4 separate regions of the Homo sapiens genome follow, and all the other regions are linked to region 1. Evidence: promoter capture Hi-C in 16 types of primary human blood cells and fetal thymus (Javierre and others, 2016). All regions are on one chromosome and are shown on one strand. The core of a region is centred on a gene start or on the middle of the fragment in contact, and the rest is flanking DNA. Distances in the headings are between cores, read along the strand shown. Region 1 holds the start of PTPRK-AS1 (PTPRK antisense RNA 1). Region 2 overlaps THEMIS (thymocyte selection associated). Region 3 holds the start of LOC124900216 (a long non-coding RNA gene). Region 4 overlaps THEMIS (thymocyte selection associated).

The links. Contacts are between HindIII fragments. The CHiCAGO score rates a contact against its expected background, and 5 or more counts as called.
Region 2: a contact is called between a fragment that was not itself captured here and the fragment with the promoter of PTPRK-AS1 in region 1, in 6 of 17 cell types (naive CD8 T cells, total CD8 T cells, non-activated CD4 T cells and 3 more). The highest score is 10.2, in naive CD8 T cells.
Region 3: a fragment that was not itself captured here is called in contact with the fragment with the promoter of PTPRK-AS1 in region 1 in 1 of 17 cell types (naive CD8 T cells); the score reaches 5.1 in naive CD8 T cells.
Region 4: a contact is called between a fragment that was not itself captured here and the fragment with the promoter of PTPRK-AS1 in region 1, in 2 of 17 cell types (total CD8 T cells and naive CD8 T cells). The highest score is 6.1, in total CD8 T cells.

Annotation. Positions count from the first base shown.
Region 1 is chr6:128,026,161-128,029,663 of GRCh38, reverse strand. It overlaps PTPRK-AS1 (PTPRK antisense RNA 1), which reads right to left and starts at 1,799. Exons shown (of 5, transcript NR_125849.1): 1 at 1,741-1,799. All of the region lies in intron 13 of PTPRK (protein tyrosine phosphatase receptor type K), which reads left to right. The HindIII fragment of the contact is 8,791 bases long and covers 1-3,503 here.
Region 2 is chr6:127,855,519-127,859,021 of GRCh38, reverse strand. The region is part of intron 1 of THEMIS (thymocyte selection associated); the gene reads left to right. Among named protein-coding and RNA genes, the nearest start is that of THEMIS, 44 kb to the left of the region's middle. The HindIII fragment of the contact is 1,556 bases long and covers 795-2,350 here.
Region 3 is chr6:128,183,787-128,187,289 of GRCh38, reverse strand. It overlaps PTPRK (protein tyrosine phosphatase receptor type K), which reads left to right. Exons shown (of 30, transcript NM_002844.4): 7 at 2,565-2,858. LOC124900216 (a long non-coding RNA gene) reads left to right here and starts at 2,865. Exons shown (of 2, transcript XR_007059752.1): 1 at 2,865-3,503. The HindIII fragment of the contact is 7,214 bases long and covers 1-3,503 here.
Region 4 is chr6:127,873,554-127,877,056 of GRCh38, reverse strand. All of the region lies in intron 1 of THEMIS (thymocyte selection associated), which reads left to right. Among named protein-coding and RNA genes, the nearest start is that of THEMIS, 26 kb to the left of the region's middle. The HindIII fragment of the contact is 3,876 bases long and covers 1-3,503 here.

The DNA of each region.
Region 1 (3,503 bases), core at 550-3,049:
TATTATTATTATTATTATTATTATTTTGAGATGGAATCTCACTCTGTCACCCAGGCTGGAGTGCATTGGCACTACAACCTCTGCTTCTTAGGTTCAAGTGATTTTTCTGCCTCGCCTCCCCAGTAGCTCGGATTACAGGTGCCCGCCACCCTGTCCAGCTAATTTTTGTATTTTTAGTAGTGATCGGGTTTCACCATGTTAGCCAAGCTGGTCTTGAACTCAAATGATCCACCTGCCTCAGCCTCCCAGAGTGCTGGGATTACAGGTGTGAGCCACTGCATGCAGTCAGAGACTGGGTAGTTTATAAAGAGAAGAGGTTTAAATGGTTCATGGTTCTGCAGGCTGTAGAGGAAGCGTAGTGCTGGCATCTGCTTCTGGTGAGGGCCTCAGGGAGCTTACAATCATGGCAGAAGGTGAAGGGGAACCATGTATCACTTGGCAAGAGAGGGAGACAGGAGAGGGAAGGTCCACACTCTTTAAACAACCAGATCTCACAAGAACACTCATTACTGTGAGGATGGCACCAAGGCATTCGTGAGAGAGCCAACCCCCAAAACCAAAAACCTCCCACCAAGTCCCATCTCCAGCATTGGGGAATACATCTCAGCATGAGATTTGGAGGGCACAAACACCCAAACTGTATCAGTTGATCAAGAACTGACCATGGAAGATGGATAGTTGAAGTCACAAGCAGTCCAGCACAATTCTAACCTTACCATGAATCTGAATTCTTAGCTCACTAAAGATTTAGGAACAGAATTGGGGAGTAGAATTATGGTCATGTAAAAATAGAGTCCGTTTAACATCCTAACCTTAAATCAGAAACCATCAAAGCATCATATCAACAAAAAAATTGTTTTCACTTATGAAAAATATGAATATTAACACAATTTTGTTGCACACTTACTCTCTGCCATATGTCTTACACTAGGCATTGAGAAAATACTAAAAATACATAGGATATGTTCCATGCTCTCAAGAAGTTGTGAATTGTGAAAGAACCTGATAGTTGAAGTAATAATTTCATGCAGTGTGCCTAAACATGAAATAGAATTCCATACAAAGTGACATTTAAATAGGTAGAAAAACCAGAGACCATATCCACACTGGTAACAGCATGGGCAGAGGTTTGCAGTTAGACATGAAAGTTAATGCAGTGTTCAAGAATATACTGAGGAGTTAGTAAGAAATTAGGCTAAAATGTATGTTGATACAGATATGAGAAAGGGCTGTAAGACTCAAGATTCACTTTATCTTGAGGGCAGGGTGGCAGCTATCAACAGTGCTAAAGCACTTTCTCTTCCACTTTAAAAATTAAAACAGTGTGGTAACCTTAAAAGGTGTTCTGAAACAATATTCTAAGCAACTGTTATCACTTTTGCTTTTTCCTTTTTTTTATCAGGTGCTTACTTAAACATTTCTCATAATTGCAAAGATTGTGACTTGTAATTATTTGTAGTTACTATTTTACCATGAGCTTTACCCACATTTTTATGTGTTTTAATTTTAAGTGGCTAAATATTATTATAAATAGTGTGTGCAGTATAATTTATATTCGTCATTTTCATTTTCCCTGAAATCTTTGTAGGCTATTAAGAAGAACAATGATAGGATCATATTTAAGTTTTAGAAAAATGACACCTTAAAAGCTGCAGGTAGATTAGGATGAGTAGGACTTGGAGTCAGAAACTTCAATAAGGGAGTGGCTGCAATATAGACTAGGAAAGAGGTGATACCAACCTGTCAGTGTCCTCATCGGTAAAAGAAGATACAGCTGGGCACAGTGGCTTATGCCTGTAATCCCAGCACTCTGGGAGGCCAAGGTGGGCGGATCACTTGAGGCCAGGAGTACGCACCAACTTGGCCAACAGAGTGAAACCCCGTCTCTACTAAAAACAAAAATTAGTCAGGCACAGTGGCACACGCCTGTAGTCCCAGCTACTCGGGTGGCTGAGGTAGGAGAATTGCTTGAACCCAGGAGAAGGTTGCAGTAACCTGAGATGGCTCCACTGCACTCCAGACTCGGTGACAGAGCAAGACTCTGTCTCAAAGGAAAAAAAAAACATACAACAAGCCTCATAAGTGCTTGTGAAAGCTAATTGAAATAATATATTAAAAGAGTTTGGCATTTAGAAAGCTCTGAAACGATCATTCATTTAACAGAGGAAGCTATGAACATTTTTTTTTTAAAGGTCAGTTTGACTTTTAGGCACCTGATTTCCTGAAGGACTCTTTGAACTCTTTGAATGTGGGTACTGTTTTATGCATTTTCATGTGATAACTAAACAGCCTGATTTACATTCTTGCCCAATATACGTATTTCTTCAAATAATGAACTAATGAATTCCCGGGCAATAAATACCTTTTGGTTAAATGGACAAACAGTTCTGTTCAGTGGGAAACATGCTAGTAGAGTCTGCTTTTAAAGGAATTGCTGTATGCAGTATTCTAAGAAATAATGAGGAAGTATTTTTACTTCAAAATACTTTGATCATAATATGATGATAGGTATTTTCTTCTCTTGCCTGTGAAAGTGTGTGTTAGGTATGTACATTATGGGGCCAAACTAGTGATTGTTGCTAATTAGGATATATGTGGCGCATTCTATCAAGAATCCCAGTTTTCTGGGCACTGTGAGCTGTAAGTCAAGTCATAAAAAGGAGTGAATTGTCTTTTTCATATATAGCACTGAAATTGACTGGAGTTAATTATTTAATGCCTACCTCCCCTACTAGACTACAGGCTGTGTCACACACCTCCCTCAGCATCTAGCACAGCAAATGGATTTAGTAATATTTATTGAATAGATTAAGAAATACAGAGTGAATAAAATAGGACACTGGTTGGAGTGTTGGGTCAACCACAATTTTGGTGTGATATATTCTACATATCACAGTGAGAAGGAAAATGATATAAAATGAATAATATCCTCCTTAAAGTACTATACAAAAAGAATACTTCTTATATTTTTTCAAGATGATGTAATCTTGTCAAATATATAATATGTTGCATGCCAGTGCTTTCTTAATCCTTAATAGTAATACCAGTAATTGTATATTAAGTTCCTGCTATGTGTCAAATACTTCTAGGTACTTTAAATGTATATTCAGTAATCTTCAGAACAAGCCTAGAGAGCAGAATTTAGTTATTTCATTGTAAAGATGAGAAAAGTGGGTCTCAAAAAAAGCAGATAACTTGTCCCAGATCACACAGTAGTTTTTCTTGGTACCTGGAGTGATTTTCATCCCTCTTTCAAATACAACCCTTTGGCTATTGGGAAGTAGCTATTACAACTGTATTTTTTCTTTAACTTGATGTAAGGGAAAGACCACTTTACACATATACAAATAGGAGAAAGTTTTGCCAGACCTTCTGCAGCTAGTATTTACATGAGTGAGTAGAGAATTGTAAGAGGTTCTGGTAGCAGTAAAAACAAATTACAAACAACGGAACATGAAGAGAAGATGTTGTCTACCAACATCTGTCAAATATGGCAGATGATC
Region 2 (3,503 bases), core at 323-2,822, 170 kb after region 1:
TCACAGCATTGCTTATATGGATTGTCAAACAAGGGATGAGCTCATAAAAGGATATTAATGTGTCGTTTTTATTGAGCAAAGTAGCATTACAGAAAAGGTGATTTCAAAGGCACATGGCTCTTTCATTACAGCCTTCAGGGGCAATGTTTGATCACTGAAAACAGGCTGCTTTGTTCCAGCTTTCTCTGATGTTTGGCATTATTCTGAATACATATGCTTTGACTTGGATAGAATCAGTCTGTAAAGATTTAATAGATTCGAGATTTGCTTATTCAAAATACATGTTTTATGGTTAAAATGAAATGAAAGCCATTTTAATATGTATGTCTATATATACACAGATATATTTCAGACACATATCTCAGCAATTTTTTTAAAAGCAATTACACATATTATGTGTTTGTTTTGAGATAATGAAAGTTGGATATTTTTAAAATTCACCATTTTAACTTATCAAGAAGGAAAAAATATATTTTAAGACACATTATATTGGTGATAATAAAATACAAGATTTCCAGTTTTAGCGACTTAAGCTTTGCTATATGTCCCTGTCACCTATCATAGACATAACTTTCTAGCTTTCTAGTGCTGGACATCTCTGAACACTTTCTTTATTAAAAATGAGTTAACAGCTTTCTTGGTTGAAGAACATTGGAAGTCACGAAATATTAAAGAGAAATTACAAAAGATTATTATTTACATGATAGTCTTTTCCTTATGTGACTGAAAGAAGTGAGCTTTTTTCTTCCAAAAGGAAAGACTTGCTTGGAAAAAGACCTGAAGAGTCAAAAGCTTTTCTTGTGGTGACCAAGACTCATGAAATTTCTTTTTATAGAATTCTCTGGCTTCTATTCCATGTGAATTGATATGAAATCTCACATAAATTTATCTTTTTATTTTGAATTCCAATTGAACCTTTAAAAGAAAGATGACATTCCAACTCAGCCAATTTGATATACATTACATTTACAATTAGATAATCAGTGCACTGAAATTAAGCCCAACAGACTTCAGCTGAAATGGGCTACGTTAGATTATGTTCCATTTAATATGACAAAGAAAAATTTTACTATTTGCTTCTTTACTTAAAAGCCTTCCCTTTCCCTCTCTCCACTTATAACATCCTCTAACTCAATGATGCCCAGTGCTTTCTCTGCTTAACACATTTTCCCCTCTATGTTAGTTTTGCAACAATTTCAAACAGAGACTATATTGTTATCCATTTGTTGCCTAGGCCAATGTTTGCAAACCTTAATGTCCTTATAAATCATCTAGGGATCTTGTTAAAAACACAGGTTCTGATTCAGTAGGTCTGGGGTCTAAGATTCTAACAAGCTCTCAGGTGATGTGGTGGACCAAGGTTTGTATAGCAAACACTTAGAGTACAAATGACCTGTCCTTAAATGTGTTTTTGGACCATGATAACTGGAAATGTAGATTCTGTGACTTTGTGGTTGCTTCATACTTTAAATTGCTTTTTTATTTATTGATAATGAATCAATAATGAATGCTCTGAACCATCAGGACTCCCTCTACTTCCCTAGTCTCTGTTTTTACCACTTCCTCCTTCTTACTTACATTTTAGACATAACAAAGTACTTGAAGTTTCCAGAATGTATCAGGCTCTTTCACATCTCAGTGCCTTTTCAAATACTATTTCCTCTGCCTGTCCTGGTGTCCTGTGACTCTTCCTTTAAAACTCAAATCTGCAGTCATCTCCTCCAGGAATCCTTCTCTAATCTCTTTTTCATGTAATTGCATAATTAAATGCCTTCAGTATACTCCCACATTGCCCTGTATTTCCTTTATTACACCCTTCTCCTAATCTGTTGCAATTGTCTGCTTAATTGTTCTTTCCCTTCAAGACAATGCTTCTGGGGGGAATGAATAATGCATTTTATCTCTGATTCCTATTGCCAATCGCCAACATAGTAGGTTTTTTTTTTTAATCAAAGTTTGCTGAATGAATGAACAGGGGAAGTTGATGTGTTGTAGTCATACAAGAAAGTAATGCAATATTTCTTCTCATGAAGTTTAAAATTGAATTGGGAGTCATAAAAACTGAAACTCATAAAAAATTAAGTATAGGGTGAGATAATACTAAAGATATAAAATGTTAGTATGTGATTAATTGCCAAATGAGGATCATAGCAAATAACCATTCAGAGTCAATTGGGGGAAAAATGTCACTGTGGATTTATTAGTATTTTTAATACCTCAATTTGTTCCACAAAGGACTTGAGCCTGCTGATAACATTAAGCATTAAAGTTAACGAAAATATGAGCACATATGTAGTTAAGGGAATAGTATGAGACAAGGAGAGGGTTATGGAAATATGTACCGGAAGCTTGAGGAATGGATAGACTATCCTTAATATGTATTCTTTAGATGTATTCTTCTTGTCTGCAAAAATGCTTCTTGCTCAGATAAGGACAGTAATGTGGGTGTGCTGGATTTTCATACCCACTCTGCCTGGGAAGCTGACTTCTGTGGGGACATTAGTAGCTCGCTTGTCCTCTGGCTTCTGGCAGAATTTGGCTAATGGGATGCCTATGGAGAAGAGTGAGGTCAGGACATTTATTTTCTTTGGTTGCCTAGAACTGGCTGTGCCTCTTTTTAAAGATGGCCCCTATGATAAACTTCCTGAAATTATTCTAATTTGAGTGTGCCCTGTTACCTATTGGGACTCTGATATGACCTCAGAGTTGTTGTTTAGAGCTAGATTGGATACCAGGCTTACTAACTTTTCTGGCAACCATCAATACCATAAAAATGTTCTAGGTGCATGCTACATATCAGGAACAATTCTATGAGGAGGTGGTTCTACACAGAAAAATTCAGAAAACAAACAAGCAAACCTAAAACGCTGTGCTCATATACTTCACATGTAGTATGGCAAAGACAACGTAAATCATCTTGGAAGTCAGGAAAAACTGATATATATAAAAGCTCACAGCTCTATAATGTTTATTTATACTTGCCTTAAGTTAGTGTTGAATTGTAAAGCAATAATATGCCAGAGATATAGTTTTTGGGTTGTTTCCTTTTCACTGGGGGTAGATTATCCAGAATTTTTGCCTCTGCTCTTGGCTGTTGTTCATCTTGTGGTTATTTTACTCCTCACTGTCCTTCCATCAGGGAATATTAAAGGAAAATAAGTGAATGAAAACTTAGCTGTAGCATCTATGATAAAAGGTTTGTCAAGAAGACGATTGAAATACTGACTAAAATGAAGCTTTTCAGTTTATCTGGGTTGGTCTGCCCCCTATCGCCACAAAGATACTCAGAATGGTTTCTAGCTTGTCAAAAACCAAGAGATAAAAATGGGCAAAAAGTTTTACTTTCATGCTAATGAAGAGAACCAGATCTAATAAATAAATATGACCCTCTTAATGTGAAGCCCTGGTGTGCAGACCCTCTTTTTCATCTCCAATTGTATGACAACCTTGTTTGCAGTTGTTATTTAGATCATTTTTGAGTCATATGAGCTTAATTTTGTGAC
Region 3 (3,503 bases), core at 522-3,021, 160 kb before region 1:
ACTTATTTCTCTTCTTTCTTTCACTTGTTTCTTATGTTGCGGTATGGCTATTTTTTCTTTCCTTCCTCTCTCATCTTTTGCTCTCCTCTTAGGTTTTCTCCTTATTTTCCATAGCAAGAGTGTGCAGAGTTTTGATTGGTGAGATTTACCATTTGATATACTCACATAAGTTCAGGTTTCAGAATATCTATAAATTTATGATTAACCAAGGTTTGTTATATATAATTCACTTGGCATATTGTGACTGTTTATTCTATCCCTACACTGGGGTAGCACCCCAGCGAGATGTGAATTTAGCATTCTTTCCAACTTAAATTAGTTAGTATATGAGCCATCTGGAATGAAAACAAATATTGCACATATGAGGCAACTCAGTTTATTCACAAAATACAGACTGCTTCTTAAAATATGTGCAGCATTTAGGTAATCTCGGAAGACATTTACATTTTTTCTATTATGTTCACTTCTCGATTCAGTTTCATTTTAGTTTAGGGTTTGAGAATATATCAACTTTCTCCCTCTCTACAAAAACTTTTTAAAACTCTGAGTACAAAAGTTGTTAGAGCAGTTGGTAAAATTTCATGGTATGAAATGTCTAGCTCTGTCTTTCATAGTTGATAAGTGAAAATTCTAAACTGTGTTTATTTTATTCAAACTTTTTTCTTTTGTGAATAACTTCTCCGTTGAATTCAGTCGTGAAATTGGAAAGAGTTCACTTACTATGCAATTTTGACTACATATTGTTGAAACAATTTGCAAACTATCAGGAATGGATGTTGTAGTTAAAGTTTGTAAATCATATGTTAACCACTTTTCTATAGAAATTATAAATGTTTGCACTTCATATAGCATATGTTATCATCTTTGATCTTAGTTTTGTTTTTGTTTTAAACATGAGCCCAGTGAATCCCAAGGTCATGTGGTTCTACAAATAATTAGTTTAAAAGTTACTGCCATAATGAGCCATGAATACTTGTGAGGAGTTACTTATGTCCTTCAAGTGATTTTGGACAAAAAATATTGATATTACATTCATTATTTATCAGTCTTCTTTTTGTTTCCTATATAAATTTCAGTTTAAAATAATGAATTCATTGATTTCTTTTTACTATGTCTCCCCTACAATGTTATATGGATACCCAATGTGTAGGACAGCCTAACAATTAATAGCTACTCAATTAATATTTATCATATGAATTTTGAAAGAATCTTCTTGAAAATTACTTTAGCCTGTGTAGCTGTACAGACCAGATAATCTTATTCCTAATTTTAAGGTTATTTGTAATTCAGAGGCTTTTAAGCTAGAAACTATACTTTTATACAATCAGGGTTAAAAAGAAAATCCTGGTCTGCACCTGAACATTCTTGTTTCATTTAAACCTGCATAAGAAGGTAAAACCTGTCTACAGGCCTTATTTGCATTGTATATTTTTCATGCAATGCATTGCCATTGAAACAAAAAATCCAACTAGAAAGATATTGATTATGTGCTCATGACTTCCCTCTATTTGTACCTTCTTCAGTCCACCCCGTACCTGTAGTGGGTTGGACTGAGGGAGCATTTTGTGGTTGTGTTTTAATAGTTTATGTGATTTGCTCCAACTCTTAAAAAAAGTTTTAAATTAATTTTTGAGCAATTACTACTTTATTAACACTTTCTTTAGGTCTTTTGACTTTCCTGAGAAAAGTGAGAAGTGTTCCAGGAATTCAAAGAACTTTATGAGTTATTATCCCTTGTGGAAAGACCATATGAACAGAGCTATAGCTGTTGAGTCCTTCATAAAGTTCGGTGTCTCATTTCAGTCACATTGTTCTAATGAAAGAAAAAAAAAGTGCCTTAATATATCATTCAACTTTTCTGTAAGTACAAATGTTGAAATAATGTTTTCCAAAGTTTCTTTCAAGCAGAATATCTTAAGATATCCAAAATTAAATTATAGTGTGCCTTTGATATTTGAGTTTAATAGTTGGTGAATTGCCTTATCTTATGCTGCTCCCAAAGACCAGTGATGTTTAGTGATTTGTGATTGTGCCTAGGTGTAAATTTAAATTTGTCACACTGTGAGGCAGATTTGTAGAAACAAGTTAGCACCTGGCATCACTTTCTGAGTTCGGTTATGTTATTCTTTCTTCCTTTACTCATCTGTAGAAACTGTGAAGAAGTAACAAGGAAAGCAAAAAGAAAAATACCTCTTGGGCATAGTTTGTGAATGAAATAAATTGTCAAAGATCAACTCTACTCTCTTAGTAGCTAATTAGAGCTATCCATATCTAAATATTTTCTTTTTATTTCCTTTGTATACTGTGACTTTACAAGTTGATCTCCTGAAAAAAAATGTGTTTTTAATACAGGAAAATTATGTTAAAATAGTCATATGCACTTGCAAAATTATATGTTCTTTAAAAGTACAGTTGTCAGATCATGCGTCTTCTAGTTTTCTTTCAAGTATTTATTATGCATTTCTAATAAATGATCCATTAAGCATTTAGGCCTTATTAGACACTAATATATCTTTGTATTATTTTAAATCTTACTAATTGAAGTGCACACTCATCTCTCCTAGAACCGCCAAGACCCATTGCTCCTCCTCAGCTTCTTGGTGTTGGGCCTACATATTTGCTGATCCAACTAAATGCCAACTCGATCATTGGCGATGGTCCTATCATCCTGAAAGAAGTAGAGTACCGAATGACATCAGGATCCTGGACAGAAACCCATGCAGTCAATGCTCCAACTTACAAATTATGGCATTTAGATCCAGATACCGAATATGAGATCCGAGTTCTACTTACAAGACCTGGTGAAGGTGGAACGGGGCTCCCAGGACCTCCACTAATCACCAGAACAAAATGTGCAGGTAAGACTGAGTAGCAGACCTTTTCTACCTTGTGAAGGAATCTAGCATAAGACACATTAATACATGCAGTGTTGAAGGTTCTCATTATTTGATATATGATATAGTCACACTATTAAGAGTTCCAATGAATTACATAAATCATCACCTTGATTATGTCATAATTTGACTGATTTGAGGACATGGGAGTGCTTCTCTATTCTCAAGCCATTATTATTATGAATCTAGAGTCCTTTTTTGGCATGGTAGTTTTGGTGAGCCTGCTACATATTCAGTCCAAAAATCTCTGATAGCTGTAATTGAAAGCATTATTGAGAGAAAAGATCATTTTAGTTCAAGCAAATACCGAATACTTTTTTACTACGTGGAAATTCTCTCCCTCAGTAATTTTGTTACAGTCAGTGTAAAGGCCACATCTTATAATATGGATAAGAAAAGTTACTCTGGACAATGCCTCGTTGAGATAACTATTTTCTTCAGAATGTCCTGTTGTTGAGGATTACCTCAGGAGCTTGACACCCAGCTGCAGAACACAGAGAGATTTTCCTTACACTTTAAGCCTTTCTGTTGCCTTCCTCATGACTAAAACTGAGTAGTGAAAATAATAGTGTATGGAGAAAACACAAAAAAAATGAAAATTAAAAAATT
Region 4 (3,503 bases), core at 327-2,826, 150 kb after region 1:
TTTTTAGACATAATTCTATTGGATACTTAATAGACTACAGTATACTGTAAATATAATTTTTATATGCACTGAGAAACCAAAAAATTTGTGTGACTTGCCTTATTGTAATATTCATTTATTGCAGTGGTCTAGAACCAAATCTGCAATATCTCTGAGATATGCCTAGATGTATTTCATTATCTAGCTGAAGTATTTTAAGTAAATTATAAGGGTATTATAATAATCTTAAAAATTTATTTCCACGTATGTCCAAGATGCTCTATTGTCACTCTGAGTGGAGGCAGATCTAGCCATAGTTAATTGCTTTCGTTTAGTTTTGTTTTCACACTATATCTTTAACTAACTCTTAAATCCATATGCTATTCTAAGTTGATTTATGTTGTCTCCTGACTTTCCTTTACCTGCTTAATATGCTACAATATTTGCAAACCTAACCAAACTTTGCAATTTACTAAGGAACTTTAAAATACTGCATATTTGTGGGTTTCACCATGGAGAATCTGGTTGAGAATTTTGGAAGATAACCCAAGAATCTGTATTTTAAAACTTTCCCCATTCTAAGACAGTCTGTATGCAAACAATTGTTGAAAAGGAATTAGACAGGACCATCTCTGTTTAAGGATGACCATTTGATGTAAGAAACAATATATCAAGAACTGAACTCTTTGCTTCCTTCCCTATTTTTCTGCATCAATGAATCTTAGTGCCCTATCATTCTCCTAATACCCCAGCACCTCAATCTGGAAGTCAGTTCGATCTTATTTTTTTCACTTGAAATTCACTAGTGCCAGTGCCTGCTGGTGGATCATTTTGATATTTGCAGCTGTCATCTTATTTAGACGCTTGTGCATGCCTGGTTCACTCTGTAACACATTTCATTGCCTGTAGTGTCTCTTGCCACTCTGTGACAACTGAGGAAAAATTTCTTACAATAACAATGCTATATTGCCTGCATTTCCAATATATTCTTCTTGAGTTTTCTCCAATCACTGAATTTTTATTTTGTAATCAGATCATGTAGGAAAACATTGGATGTCAGATAATCGGTTAACACATTAATTTGTTTAAATCTTAAAAGTGGTATTTTTACTTTCTGGAATGCCCTTTCTATCAATATTAATAACCAGACATCCAGACTGACCTCATTTAGCTATAATCACATGTCAACTATGTAGAGGATTATACTTCGATTTGTTTGTTGCTAACTTCATCGGCATGAGAGGACAATCAAGGTGACACATGACACATAGATGACCAAATTACCAAAGCTCTGAAACAGTCTACCAATGGCAAAACTGCAGCTCTCATTTTTGTTTTTAATCTTTTTATACCACTGTGCTGTTCAATACAGTAGTCACTAGTCCTATGTGGCTCTTTAAGTTTAAATTAAGTAAAAGTAAATGTATGTAAAACTTGAGTTCCTCCGTTACATTAGTTACATTTAAGTGCTCAAGAGCCTCACGTGGCTATTAGCTGCAGTATTGGGCAGCTCAGATTATATTTCCAACATTGCAGAAAGTTTTACTGGATAGTTCCACTGTGGAGTCCCTCTGGAAGTCTCAAGGTGGGAAGAGACTCACATTTCCAATATCAACAAACCTACTCGCCTTTCTCCCTGCTATGTTGACTTCCCTAATGGCTTTCTGCAGTTTGGGGGTTTCTACATTGTGTTGAGGCTTCTTCTACTACTTCACCTTGTATGCACATGCTTCTGTGTTTGACAAAGACTTTCTCTGTCACTGGTGTCAAAAGTTGCACACATACACACATTTATTTAAGTTAAACAAAATAAACTCTTTATTTTGAGATGAATGCAGATTCATATGCAGTTGTAAGAAATAATACAAAGAGATCCCATGTATCTTTTACTCCAGTGGTTCCCAAATTTTTGGGACCAGGGACTGGTTTCGTGAAAGACAATTTTTCCATTGATTGCAGGGGCAGAGGTTTTGGGGATGTTTCAAGTACACACTACATTTATCATCAGATTATTAGATTCTTATAAGGAGCACACAACCTAGATCCCCTGCATGCATGCACAGTTCACAATAGGGTTTCTGCTCCTAGGAGAATCTAATGCCCGCTGATCTGATGAAAGGTGAAGCTCAGCTTTGCTGGCTGTTCAGCTGCTCACCTCCTGCTGTGCGGCCAGCACCAGTCTGTGGCCCAGGGGTTGCAGACCCCTGCTTTACTCAACTTCCCTCAATGATAAGGTCTTACAAAACTGTAATACAATATTACAACCAGGATATTGACATTGTTACAGTCAAGAGACAAAATATTTATATCATCACATCACCCATGTTGCTTTTTTATAGCCATACCTTCTTCTTAACTCCTTTCAAATTTAAGTTCAGAATCCATTTTGAGTCAATATTTGTGTGTGTATAATGTGAAGTTTAGTACACTTGACTCTTGAACAAATGGTTTGAATTTTGTGGGTCCACTTATATGCAGATTTTTAAAAATAAATATATTGGAGATTTTTTTGGAGATTTGAAACAATTTGAAAAAACTCACAACGTAGCCTAGAAATATTTAAGATAAAAACTAAGAAAATTAGGTATGTCATGAATCCATACAATATATGTAGCTACTAATCTATTTTATCGTATACTACCATAAAATATACACAAATCTATTATAAAAAGTTAACATTTTTCAAAACTTGCACATGCCTTTACAGACTGTTTATGGTGCTAGTCACAGTTGAGAGAAAGGTAAACACATGTAACAGATGCAGTGTTAAATCACAACTACATAAAATTAACTATAGTAATATTGTTCTACCATAATAATTTTGTAGCCCTGTTCTGTTGCTATTGTGATGAGCTCAAGTGTTGGAAGCATCCAATTAAAACACCCTGTTACACTAATCATCTCCTTTTGAGTACTCATCCTCTCCTACAAATTGTGAATTGCAGTAAAAAGTGAGCTCATTCTCGTGTACAAACGTTCCATCATAGTGCTATACCGTAAACCTTGAAAACAGCATGAGACCTACAAAGTGCTACTAATGATGCTATTGGTATTCCCAAAAAGTAAACAAAAGTCATAACATTGCAAGAAAAAGTTGAATTCCTTGATATGTACCATAGATTGAGGTCTGCAGCCATGGCTGCCCACCATTTCAGACAGATCTTATAAACAAATGATGTAAACTTATGGTATCAATAAATGCAATACTATGAATGCATTTTCTATTCCTTATGATTTTCTTAGTGACATTTTCTTTTCGCTAGCTTATTTTATTGTAAAAATACGGTATGTAATACACATAACATACAAAATATGTGTTAATTGACTTTATGTTATTGGGAATGCTTCCAGTCAACAGTAGCCTATTAGTAGTTAAGTTTTGGGAAAGACAGATGCTGTAACATGGATTTTTGACTGCACAAGGCCAGTGCCCTTAACCCCTACATTGTTTAAGGGTAACCAGTACTAGGTTAATTATTTTAATTTTATGGATGTCCAATTTTTCCAGTACTTTGTTGTTGTTC